Linked DNA regions of Homo sapiens: all the other regions are linked to region 1. Evidence: promoter capture Hi-C in human tissues and cell types (Jung and others, 2019). All regions are on one chromosome and are shown on one strand. The core of a region is centred on a gene start or on the middle of the fragment in contact, and the rest is flanking DNA. Distances in the headings are between cores, read along the strand shown. Region 1 holds the start of KLRG2 (killer cell lectin like receptor G2). Region 2 overlaps HIPK2 (homeodomain interacting protein kinase 2). Region 3 overlaps HIPK2 (homeodomain interacting protein kinase 2).

Region 1 (3,184 bases), core at 21-2,520:
TTTTTTTGAGACGGAGTTTCTCTCTTGTTGCCCAGGCTGGAGTACAATGGCATGATCTCGGCCCACTGCAACCTCCGCTTCTCGGGTTCAAGCGACTCTCCTGTCTCAGCCTCCTGAGTAGCTGGGATTACAGGTGAATGCCACCATGCCAGGCTAATTTTTGTATTTTTAGTAGAGACGGGGTTTCATCATATTGGTCAGGCTGGTCTCGAACTCCTGACCTCAGGTGATCCGCCCGCCTCGGCTTCCCAAAGTGCTGGGATTACAGGCGTGAGACACGGCAACAATGTGAATTACAGTTACGTAGACAGGAATGTTATTGATTGTAAGCCCGAGAGGCCAGATCGGGTTGGGGATCGGGATGGCCAACTGGGTCCCTTAGTCGGTCAGCTGCCCAGCGGTCCAGGGCTGGGCGGGTGTGGGGGTTTCGGCTACGTCCACCCGACCTGGCGGCGTCGGCTGCCGGCGCAGGTGAGCACTCACCCGTAAGCGTTACGGCCCGGGGCAGCTTCTCGTCGCCGTCCAACCCCGCGCGGGGCAACAGCGCCGCATCCTCCTTCTCCAGCCCCAGCTCCTTGCAGCGGCAGCACGTGGGGGAGCCCGGGGAGCCGGCGCTTCCTTCCGCGGGGCTGGCCCGGCCCTCTGCGTCGCAGCCGCTCTCCGTCCGGGCTGCAGCCAGCGGCGAGCGGCGGCCCCACGTGCCGCCCTGGGATGGTGCGCGCAGCAGGAGCTGGTGCGCCGGGTCCGCGTGGCGGGAGAAGGCAGGGGACTCGGGCACCGGCACCTTGAGGAAGCGCGTGGAGGGCCTGGGCGATGGCGTGCTGCTGCCACCGGCCGCGCCCACGGGCTTCACGCGCACATCTACCTGCAGCTCCATGGGCGCCCAGGCGCTGGGCGCAGGCTCAGCCCCGGGCGCCTCGCCATTCCGGGGCAGCTTGACCAAGGCAGGGCCCGGTGACGGCGGCTCGGGGCAGACCCCGTAGCCCAGGCTGAGCGGCGGCACGCGCGGGGACCCGGGGCGAGGCGAAGGCGGCTTTTTCTTGCTCGAGGGCTCCAGGCCTGCGCCCGCCGCCTTCTCCACGGCCCCGGCCGGACTTGGGCTGCTTTCGGGACCTTCAGGTTGTCGCACCTTCGCGGGCACCTGCGGCTGCTCCAGCGTGGGGACCAGGCTTCCCACGGGCTCCATTGGGAGCTCTGCCCCGGCTTGGCCTCCGGGCGCAGCCTCCCAAGACTCCTCCATCCCGCGCGCCCCGCCACCCGGAGACGCTGAGGAGCGCACCTGGGCCCAGTGCAGAGGAGCTTCGCTCTCCTCCGTCCGGATTGGTCCAGCCGCGTCGCCGAAGTTGTCAGGCCACGCCCCTCCCCGAAGGACCCCGCTGTGATTGGCTGTGGCTGAGGTTCTGCTGCCCCGACCCCCTTCGGGACACAGCCCCGGCCTCCACCAGGCACTGGGAGGGAGCTGAGAACGGCAGCGGGGCCAGGCGAGGGTTGCAGGGTGGGCGGGAGCTCTCGGGAGAAAAGCAGAACACCAGCGGAGGCTTGTGGCAGGGAACCCGGAGCCCCGCCTGACCCTTCCCTCTTCTTTGTCTCTGACCTCACCCATTTTCCCCTCCAGCCCTATGCCGGGGTGTTGGTTTTGAGAGTTACAGTTTGGGCGGGGAAGGATTGGCCAAGCCTGTCTGGATCCTGGGACCTCAGAGAAATCAGAATCCAAAGGAATTGGGGCGACCTGTGGAAAAGTAGCCCAGTTGGTTGTCCTGACAATCCAGCAGGGTTTCGAAAGGACTCTCCATCATACTTGGGAGGACTCCCCCACTGAGTAACGCTAAGAGAAAAGAAACAGGGCGTGGATAAGCAATTCTTCTTTTTTTTTTTTTTTTTGAGACGGAGTCTTGCTCTGTCGCCAGGCTGGAGTGCAGTGGCCCGATCTCGGCTCACTGCAATCTCCGCCTCCCAGGTTCAAGCGATTCTCCTGCCTCAGCCTCGTGAGTAGCTGGGACTACAGGCACCCACCCCACCACGCCCGGCTAATTTTTGTATTTTTAGTAGAGACGGGGTTTCACCATGTTGGCCAGGATGGTCTCGATCTCCTGACCTCGTGATCTGCCCGCCTCGGCCTCCCAAAGTGCTGGGGTTACAGGCGTGAGCCACCGCGCCCCGCCTGGCCTCTGGTATTTTTAAGTGCCCCCAGGGTAGGGTTGGCAGATAAAATGCAGGCCACTCAGTTTAATTTGAATTTCAGTTAAACAAGGGATAGTTTTTAGCATAGTAGTCCTCCCTTATCCACTGGGATAGTTCCAAGACCTCCCAGTGAATGCCTGAAACTTTGGATAGCACCAAACCCTATATATACTGTTTTTTTCTATACAAGCGGTCTTCAAAAGGTTCATGGAAAATTCATACTATGAAAAAAACTATGCATGGATTTGAAAATTTTTTGGCACCAAAATAAATTTGTACTAACTTGTTATCACATGTCTCGACAAGATCTAGTTTGAGGCACTAAGAAGGATAAGACATCAGTTTGAAAAGAGCTCCTGTCAGAGCAACAAGGATTCTGCTAAATTTGAAGCAAGAATAATCATCACATTTATGGTGACATCATTGATATTTTTATGAAAAGCTCATGGGGACAATGCCCCCAAGAAACCAGCAGTTTGCAAATGGAAAACTCGTTTTAAGAAGGGATGAGGCCAGGCGTGGTGGCTCAGCCTGTAATCCCAGCACTTTGGGAGGCCGAGGCAGGTGGATCACTTGAGGTAAGGAGTTCGAGACCAGCCTGGCCAACATGCTGAAATCCTGTCTCTACTAAAAAAGCAAAAATTAAGCTGGGCGCGGCAGCTCACGCCTGTAATCCCAGCACTTTGGGAGGCCGAGGTGGGCGGATTGACTGAGCTCAAGAGTTCAAGACCAGCCTGGGCAACACAGTGAAACCCCGTCTCTACTAAAATACAAAAAATTAGCTGGCATGGTGGCATGCGCCTGTAGTCTCAGCTACTCGGGTGCCTGAAAATACAAAAAATTAGCCGGGCGTGGTAGTGGGTGCCTGTAATCCTAGCTACTCGGGAGGCTGAGGCAGGAGAATTGCTTGAACTCGGGAGGCAGAGTTTGCAGTGAGCCGAGATTGTGCCACTGTACTCCAGCCTGGGTGACAGAAGGAGACTCCATCTCAAAAAAAAAAAAA
Region 2 (3,376 bases), core at 107-2,606, 130 kb after region 1:
GTGCTGGGGTCATGGCCAAAGAATTGTTTTGAGGAGGGGTCCCAGGGAAGTACTTTTCAGACTGATGGATATTCTTCATGGGAGCTGGGACTATGTCGGCTGTCAGAGATTGGCAGTTTTCTACAGATAACCCACACAGAGGATATTTCATGCGAGGAAAAGCAAGAGCTGACATCAGCATAACAATGAAAGCACAAACTATGTACTTATTTACAGACAGCTGGCCAGGGACACAGTCCCTGGCAGGTGTGAGAGTCACAAAGGATTGACTTGGTGCTGAGGCATAAGCCCTATTGTTTCTAGGTTGGCCACAGTAGGAGAGGAGCCCTCTAGTTCAGTGATACCAGCGCTCTCACTGGAAGAAATGAGGAGGGCCTTTCTCCATGAAAATGAGCGTGACAGAAAACTGCAGGTGCCGGAGCCCCAGAGGCCGTTCTGTAAGAAGCAGGTGAGAGGCTGTGGCTGCTCAATCTTACCTTGGAAGCCGGGGGGACACACGATGAGAGCTTGCTGGAACGGGTCAGGCCGGGCACAAATCTGGGCTGTTCCTGTCTGCAGGGGCATGCTCCGCTGGGCCACTGCAGCCATGGATGCCGCTGAGGGCTGGTAGAGTGTAGATGGGTAGTTTAGTATGGAGACTTCGGGATTGGCTAAGGAAATAGTGGCACTGGTAGAGGAGGGAGCCTAAAGGAGTGATGGGGATTAAACAAAAATAAACAAAAATAAAAAATGAGGGAGGTGGCATGTTGGGAGACACGAATCTAAATCAAATAAATGAACTCAAAGAAGAACAAACAAACAAAAACTAAGAGCAGAAAGGCAAAAGCAGAGAGGAGTGGAAACACGATTGAAAGTCGCAGGGAAAAGCAGGTCCCTGAAAACATGGGAGACAGTCACCTTGGTGTTCACATTCAGACTTGCTCCTGGCATTTGTGAGGCCCAGACAAGAGGACACACGGATGCCTGCTACCATGTCTAAATGCTGAAAAGGCTAAAAATTAGGCTAGAAAACTGTTTAATAAAATGTTCTGCCTTTTCATTTTGACAAATACACCTTCCCAATAACCGGGAAGACCAGGCGTGAGTTGAGGACTATGGGATTCCTTGGGTTCTGTGCTGACACATGGTGACAGGGAGAGAGCTGGACCTTGCCCTCCTTCTCTCTGCCCAAGCCCCATTCCATCCCACAACATGATGAGCTCTGGGTGCCTGGACCTGCCAGCCTGCACGTCCAAGCTCTGCTCACACTCCCCTCGGGCCTGGTGGGTGCAGTCCACATGTGGGAGGACAAATCCAGGGGGAGGCTCTTGCAGGCCCTAAAGGACTATGGTCTCAGTACCCAGAGCTTGGCACAGGAGCACATGCAACAGGCGGAGAGCAGGGCCGAGGAGGGGCTCAGGACTATGGGCAGTACTGTTTACAGATGTCCTTAGATGGCTGCAAAGCTTAGAGAAGTACAGGAGATGTATGCAGAGAGGGAGAGGGACATGTTGAGCCTGGGGCTTTGTGTCTGCATCCCATGCATTCATGTTGGTATGCAGTGACAAAGCCTGGCAGATAGAAAAGATGCTGGTGTGTCCAGATAACTGAAATGGAGGTGGCTTTGACAAACACAAGCCATTGACATTATGTCCTCTTGCCTTTCTTTTTCAGAAAAAGACATCACTTGAGACTGAACTTGCATGAAAAATGAGGCTGTATAAGGAAAATAAATTCCAACTTTGGAATTCTCCAGTTTCCCCTATCTTAGCCTTCATACTGATCCTTTAGCAAGATAGGTGGTTACCAGTGGTTTCACATTCAGCACTGTCTACAAGAGGTTTTGCCTCTAGAAGTTACAAGGACCAGGGAATACATAGGAAGAAACCACGAAGATATCTTGGACACAAATAGAATTTCAAGTAGGGTGTGTATGGATGTCACATTTGATAAAAAGGACAAAGTCTTATTTTACATATGTTTTCTATACTTAGATTTTGTGCTAAATTTCATTGCAAAGCAAATTGATTTGTTTGAAAATAATCACGAAATTGAGTGGCACAGATGTCTGATTTTAAGCCACATATTTTAAAGTGGGTGTGCTTTTGCAGCGTCGCATAGTCTGCTTGGGACACGTGTGTACATATGTGGGCATCAGTGTCTGTGTTTTGTCAGATGACATGACTTGTATTTCCTGTTTTCTCCATATCGCGATCTCTTCCGGAGGCTTCTTCCCCCTCAACCCTCCACATTCCCCATGGTCTGCTCATATCTAGACTCCCCCCAGCCCTTAGCCCCTGTGGGTGTCCCTGCTGGGGGTCCTGGCACCTGTATCCTCTAGGTTCCCAAACTTCTGCTCGGTGGTTCCACTTTCTTGCCAGCCACTGCTCCTGCTGCTGCTTCCTTCCTGATGTCCCTGGAATCCACTGACTCTTTTCAGTTGTGACTTCCTGGTGCCTGGGACCTATAAGGCCCTGACTAGAAATGTTCTGGTCTCTACTTCCCTTCCAGCCTTCTTGAGCACAGAGGGTAGATCATTCTTTCCACAAGACACCTTTGTGCATGTCAGCACCCCTGCTCCAAAATCCCAATTACAGCTTGATGAACATGGTATGCGCCTGGTCTAGTGCCCTGTTTTCCCTGGTTTGGCCAACCTTACCTTCTAGACTTATCTCCCTCTGCTCTCCACTCTTCTGACACCAAGATTAGTTTACTCATTGTTTTCCAAGCATACTGTGAGCACAGGCCTTTCCCTTCATACAAGCTCTCTGACCCATAGCATTCTCTCCAAGCCTTTGGGCTTTAAGGCCTAGCCTGGGTCCCACATGCCCCATTGTGAAACCCTTTCAGACACCATTAATGGAAATGAATTGCTCCTTCCTTTGCTATCACACAGTACAATATAGCCTTCTAGCCCAGCTCCTGTTACAATCTGCCTTACAGTACAGTTGGTCTTTCCAGCCTAAAGTCTCCTGGGAGGGAGGGGCTGTGTCTTAGTGGTGTTTTCCTCCAGCCTGCAGTGGTCTCTCCTTCCTCTCGATTCTGTAACACATAATCTGTTTGTCTACCTGGCCCCTAGTACATGCTATTCTGCATTTTGATTAAACTATTTTTGCTTACAGCCTGTCTCACCATGGAGACCATGAGCTCCTTGAGAGGCTGAATCTTCCAGCTCTGTAGACTCAAGGACAAATGGCACTTGTGTCCTGATATGGACCCAGTCTCCAGTGTGACCATCAGACATGCATAAGGTTTTCCCCTAGTTTCGAACCCTGCTTAAGGACCAGTTGAAGAAGCCCATGTGAGGGCAACAAAAAGTTTTCTACTTCTGTATATCCTCCTTTAGCTCTCAGAAAGGTAGCTAGCCTATCACTTGCCAGAGAGGAGCACACAGAGA
Region 3 (3,441 bases), core at 805-3,304, 160 kb after region 1:
TCCACTAACATGGCCAGCTCCAAAGTCTCAAGTCAGCCCCTGATTCTCCATCCCCCCTGCCGCAGCAGTGGCGCTGGTCACCCCTGCGTCACCTGGAGCTTCCACTGCAGCCTTTCCACTTGTCTCTCCCTTCCTTGTGCCCACTTCCTCCATGGCAGCCACAGGGAACAGATGGCACCCCACCCCCTTGCCGTAAGCCTTCAGGGGCTCCCCACTGGACTTGGAATGAAATCTAGACCCCTCCATGGCCATGGGGCCTCCACGATTGGGACCCTGCCCACCTCTCCACCATCACTGCCAACCACTCTCCTAGCTTAATACGTTGCAGGCCCGTTGGTTTCCTTTCCATTTGCAAGAGTACCTGGAGCTCCTTTGGAGCCAGAGTCTTCGTGGGATGCTGTTGCTTCTGCCTTAAATGCTCTCCCTGCTGGCTGTCACATGGCTGCCTCCTTCTCATCCCTCAAATCTTAGCTCAGCTGTCACGCTACAGACAGGCCTCCCTTGACACCAGTTAGTCTTCATATAGGGTGCCATAAATGCCACTTCACAGCACTTTCTTAACCTGCTCACTGTCTGTCTTCCCTGACCAAGTCTATGAGGGCAGCGCAGGCATTCGGTAGCCACTCATTAAGCATTTGTTGATCAAATAAACCTTTATTAAATATAAGAAAGTGTTAAAATATGGATTAAGACAAAGCTCTAAGGCAGTGCAGATAAAAGAGAGTAGAAGGGCTGAATCATTATGCAGCAATCAAGGTTTGGGCATGAGGGGGCAGGATTTAGCCCAAGGAGGAGCAGAAGCTGAGGCTCAGAGAGGGGCACGAGCAACCCGGCTCACACTCACCACAGCAGGGCAGACAGCAGGAGTGCCAAGGACACCTACTTGCAGGTGGCCAACAAAAGAATTACAGCAAAAATGACAGGGAGGAGGAACAGGAGGGCTAGAAGTGGCACCTGGCTCATGCAGGGTTAGGACTTGGGACCTCAGGGATTTAGCCCAAACCTCTTATTTTATGGCCATTGTCATTACGCCCTCTAGAGCCTCCACCTTAGCTCTTATGTTGAAGACTTTATCCTGCGCAGTCCCACTGCAGCATGCGAAATCACATGCTCTTCCATCTGGGCCTCACTACAGCCACCTGCTGCTCTCTTGCCTTTGGTTTTAACCTTTTCCAATCCACTCTGGATCCCTCTCCCACCCCTAAGGGTGCAGCCTTTTCTCTGCACTCATGAGACATGTTTCAGATACAGCCTGCTCCCCTCCCTGCCCGCTTCCATTCTTCCTTATTCAAACAGACACTGCCCACTGTCTCTGTGCTGGCTCTACCAGGTGACAAGCATACAAAGATCAATGACATACTCAGACCAGATTGGTCCAATAAATACTAACTGAGCACCCACTGGCCCCACAGAACCATCTTAAAGAATTTCCTCATCGCTATTTTGGGACATCAGAAATACTTTAAACATATATATGAAGTGTCAGACAAAATCTGCACCTAAGAAAGAGGACTCATTCCTTTCCAACATTCCCAAAGCAAGCCACTAAACATTCTTGTTCTGGAGAAAGAGAGTAAATAATTGTCTTTTTTTTTTTTTTTTTTTGAGACAGAGTCTCACTCTGTTGCCCAGGCTGGAGTGCAGTGGCGCGATCTTGGCTCACTGCCAGCTCCACCTCCCGGGTTCACGCCATTCTCCTGCCTCAGCCTCCTGAGTAGTTGGGACTACAGGCGCCCACCACCATGCCCGGCTAATTTTTCGTATTTTTAGTAAAGACGCGGTTTCACCATGTTAGCTAGGATGGTCTCGATCTCCTGACCTCGTGATCCGCCCGCCTCGGCCTCCCAAAGTGCTGGATTACAGGCGTGAGCCACCACGCCCAGCCAATAATTGTCATTTTTGACACACAAATACGTTTGCATATCTGCCTCTACTATACCTCCTGGAGGGCAGGGTCTGCATCTCACTTGTCCTTGATCCTCAGCCTGGCACACAGAAGCTGCTTCGTAAACAGCTGCTCAACACCCAGCCCATAAACCCTCAGGTAAGGGAGGTAGTTCCCCATTTGGCCCCCAGGAATCTTTGGGGACTTCAGACCATTTTGCTGGGATCTGATCTTGCAGAGGCCTTGTCCCCCTGCTCTGCTAGTCTATAAGGCTCTGAGGTCCTAGAAGTTCAAAGTCAAGTCTAAAATGTTTCTTTTCATCCAGCCCACCTGAAGCATGTTGGATGGTTGCTAAAGCATGCTTAATCTTCAGGGAAGCTCATTCTGACAGTCATTCTGAGCCAGAATTTGTTTCAAGCTGTCCTCACTCACTTATTAGAATATTCAACCACCATTTACTAAGTGTTTCCTCTGTGCCAGGTACTGTGCTGGGTGCTAAAGATCAAAAAGTAAACCAGACCCTGCAGCTCTTCCAGGAGTTCACCGTCTAGCCAAGGTAGCAGCATAGCGACATCTGACATACAATGTGTGAAGTGTGTACATAGTACACAAAGATGGGGGAAATTGGAGGAGGAGAGAGAAAGCAGGATGGGCTTCCCAGGAGGAGTCTGAGCTGAGCCTTAGTAAGTGGCCAGGCAGGGGTGGCTACCACACACAGAGCAGCGCAAGTCCCCCAACCCCCATGTCACTGCTGTATCTCCAGCGCCTAGCACGCAGCCTGGGCATGTAGGTGCTCCATACACATTTGTAGAAGGAATGAGTCTATGTCAAGTGCACACCCTCAGCAGTTGCCAGTTTTCCCTGGAGCTGGCAATGCCACCTTGTCAGTACCTCCTATGTGAGAGGCAGACAGCTTGGCCTTTCTGTTTCAGAGTTTACATGGTTTTTTGGGTTGATCATCACATGTCGGTTGCTTCCACAGGGGCTGTTCCTGTTCTCGGTTCGGTTTCAGGCAGGTAGGGCTGCTGGTTCCTGAATACTGTGAGTGAGCATTTCCAGGTTCTGTCATAACTGATCTCTCATTTGCTCTTCCTCACCTTCACTGCTACAGCTCCACCCCATGGAACCATCTTAAAGAATCGCCTCATTACTATTTTGGGACATCAAAAATACTTTAAACACACATGAAGTGTCAGACAAAATCTGCACCTAAGAAAGAGGGGGATAATTTCTTTCCAACATTCTCATAGGAAGACACTGAAAATTCTATCTTTCTAAAGAAAGAGGAAAAACAACTGTCATTTTGGACACCATCAATATGGAAGCTTTGATGATTTAGCTCCACTCGCTCTCTTGACTGCACACACTGAGAAGCATTCCCAGATCATGTCCAGATCATATGACCCTGCAGGGGAATGGCCTCCAGTGGAGGTGTAGAGGCTGCAGAAGTCAAGAGGGCGTGGCCCGCACTTGGGATCCCAGTGTTCACCGGGTTGAATCCCAGCCCTGTCAGGTACTGGTTGTGTACCTACTTCTGGGTACAGGTATGAAGACTA

What was found. Contacts are between HindIII fragments. The study calls those that stand out against the background at their distance.
Region 2: a fragment that was not itself captured here is called in contact with the fragment with the promoter of KLRG2 in region 1 in 1 of the 25 tissues and cell types used here (bladder).
Region 3: a fragment that was not itself captured here is called in contact with the fragment with the promoter of KLRG2 in region 1 in 1 of the 25 tissues and cell types used here (adrenal gland).

Annotation. Positions count from the first base shown.
Region 1 is chr7:139,482,403-139,485,586 of GRCh38, forward strand. It overlaps KLRG2 (killer cell lectin like receptor G2), which reads right to left and starts at 1,271. Exons shown (of 5, transcript NM_198508.4): 1 at 484-1,271. The coding sequence starts at 1,240. RefSeq lists an enhancer at 431-510 and silencers at 641-920, 1,381-1,440. The HindIII fragment of the contact is 6,160 bases long and covers 1-3,184 here.
Region 2 is chr7:139,613,810-139,617,185 of GRCh38, forward strand. HIPK2 (homeodomain interacting protein kinase 2) reads right to left here. Exons shown (of 15, transcript NM_022740.5): 8 at 477-684. It overlaps LOC105375530 (a long non-coding RNA gene), which reads left to right. Exons shown (of 4, transcript XR_001745383.2): 3 at 304-448; 4 at 1,654-1,744. Among named protein-coding and RNA genes, the nearest start is that of CLEC2L, 92 kb to the left of the region's middle. The HindIII fragment of the contact is 6,188 bases long and covers 1-3,376 here.
Region 3 is chr7:139,637,071-139,640,511 of GRCh38, forward strand. All of the region lies in intron 2 of HIPK2 (homeodomain interacting protein kinase 2), which reads right to left. Among named protein-coding and RNA genes, the nearest start is that of CLEC2L, 120 kb to the left of the region's middle. The HindIII fragment of the contact is 9,022 bases long and covers 1-3,441 here.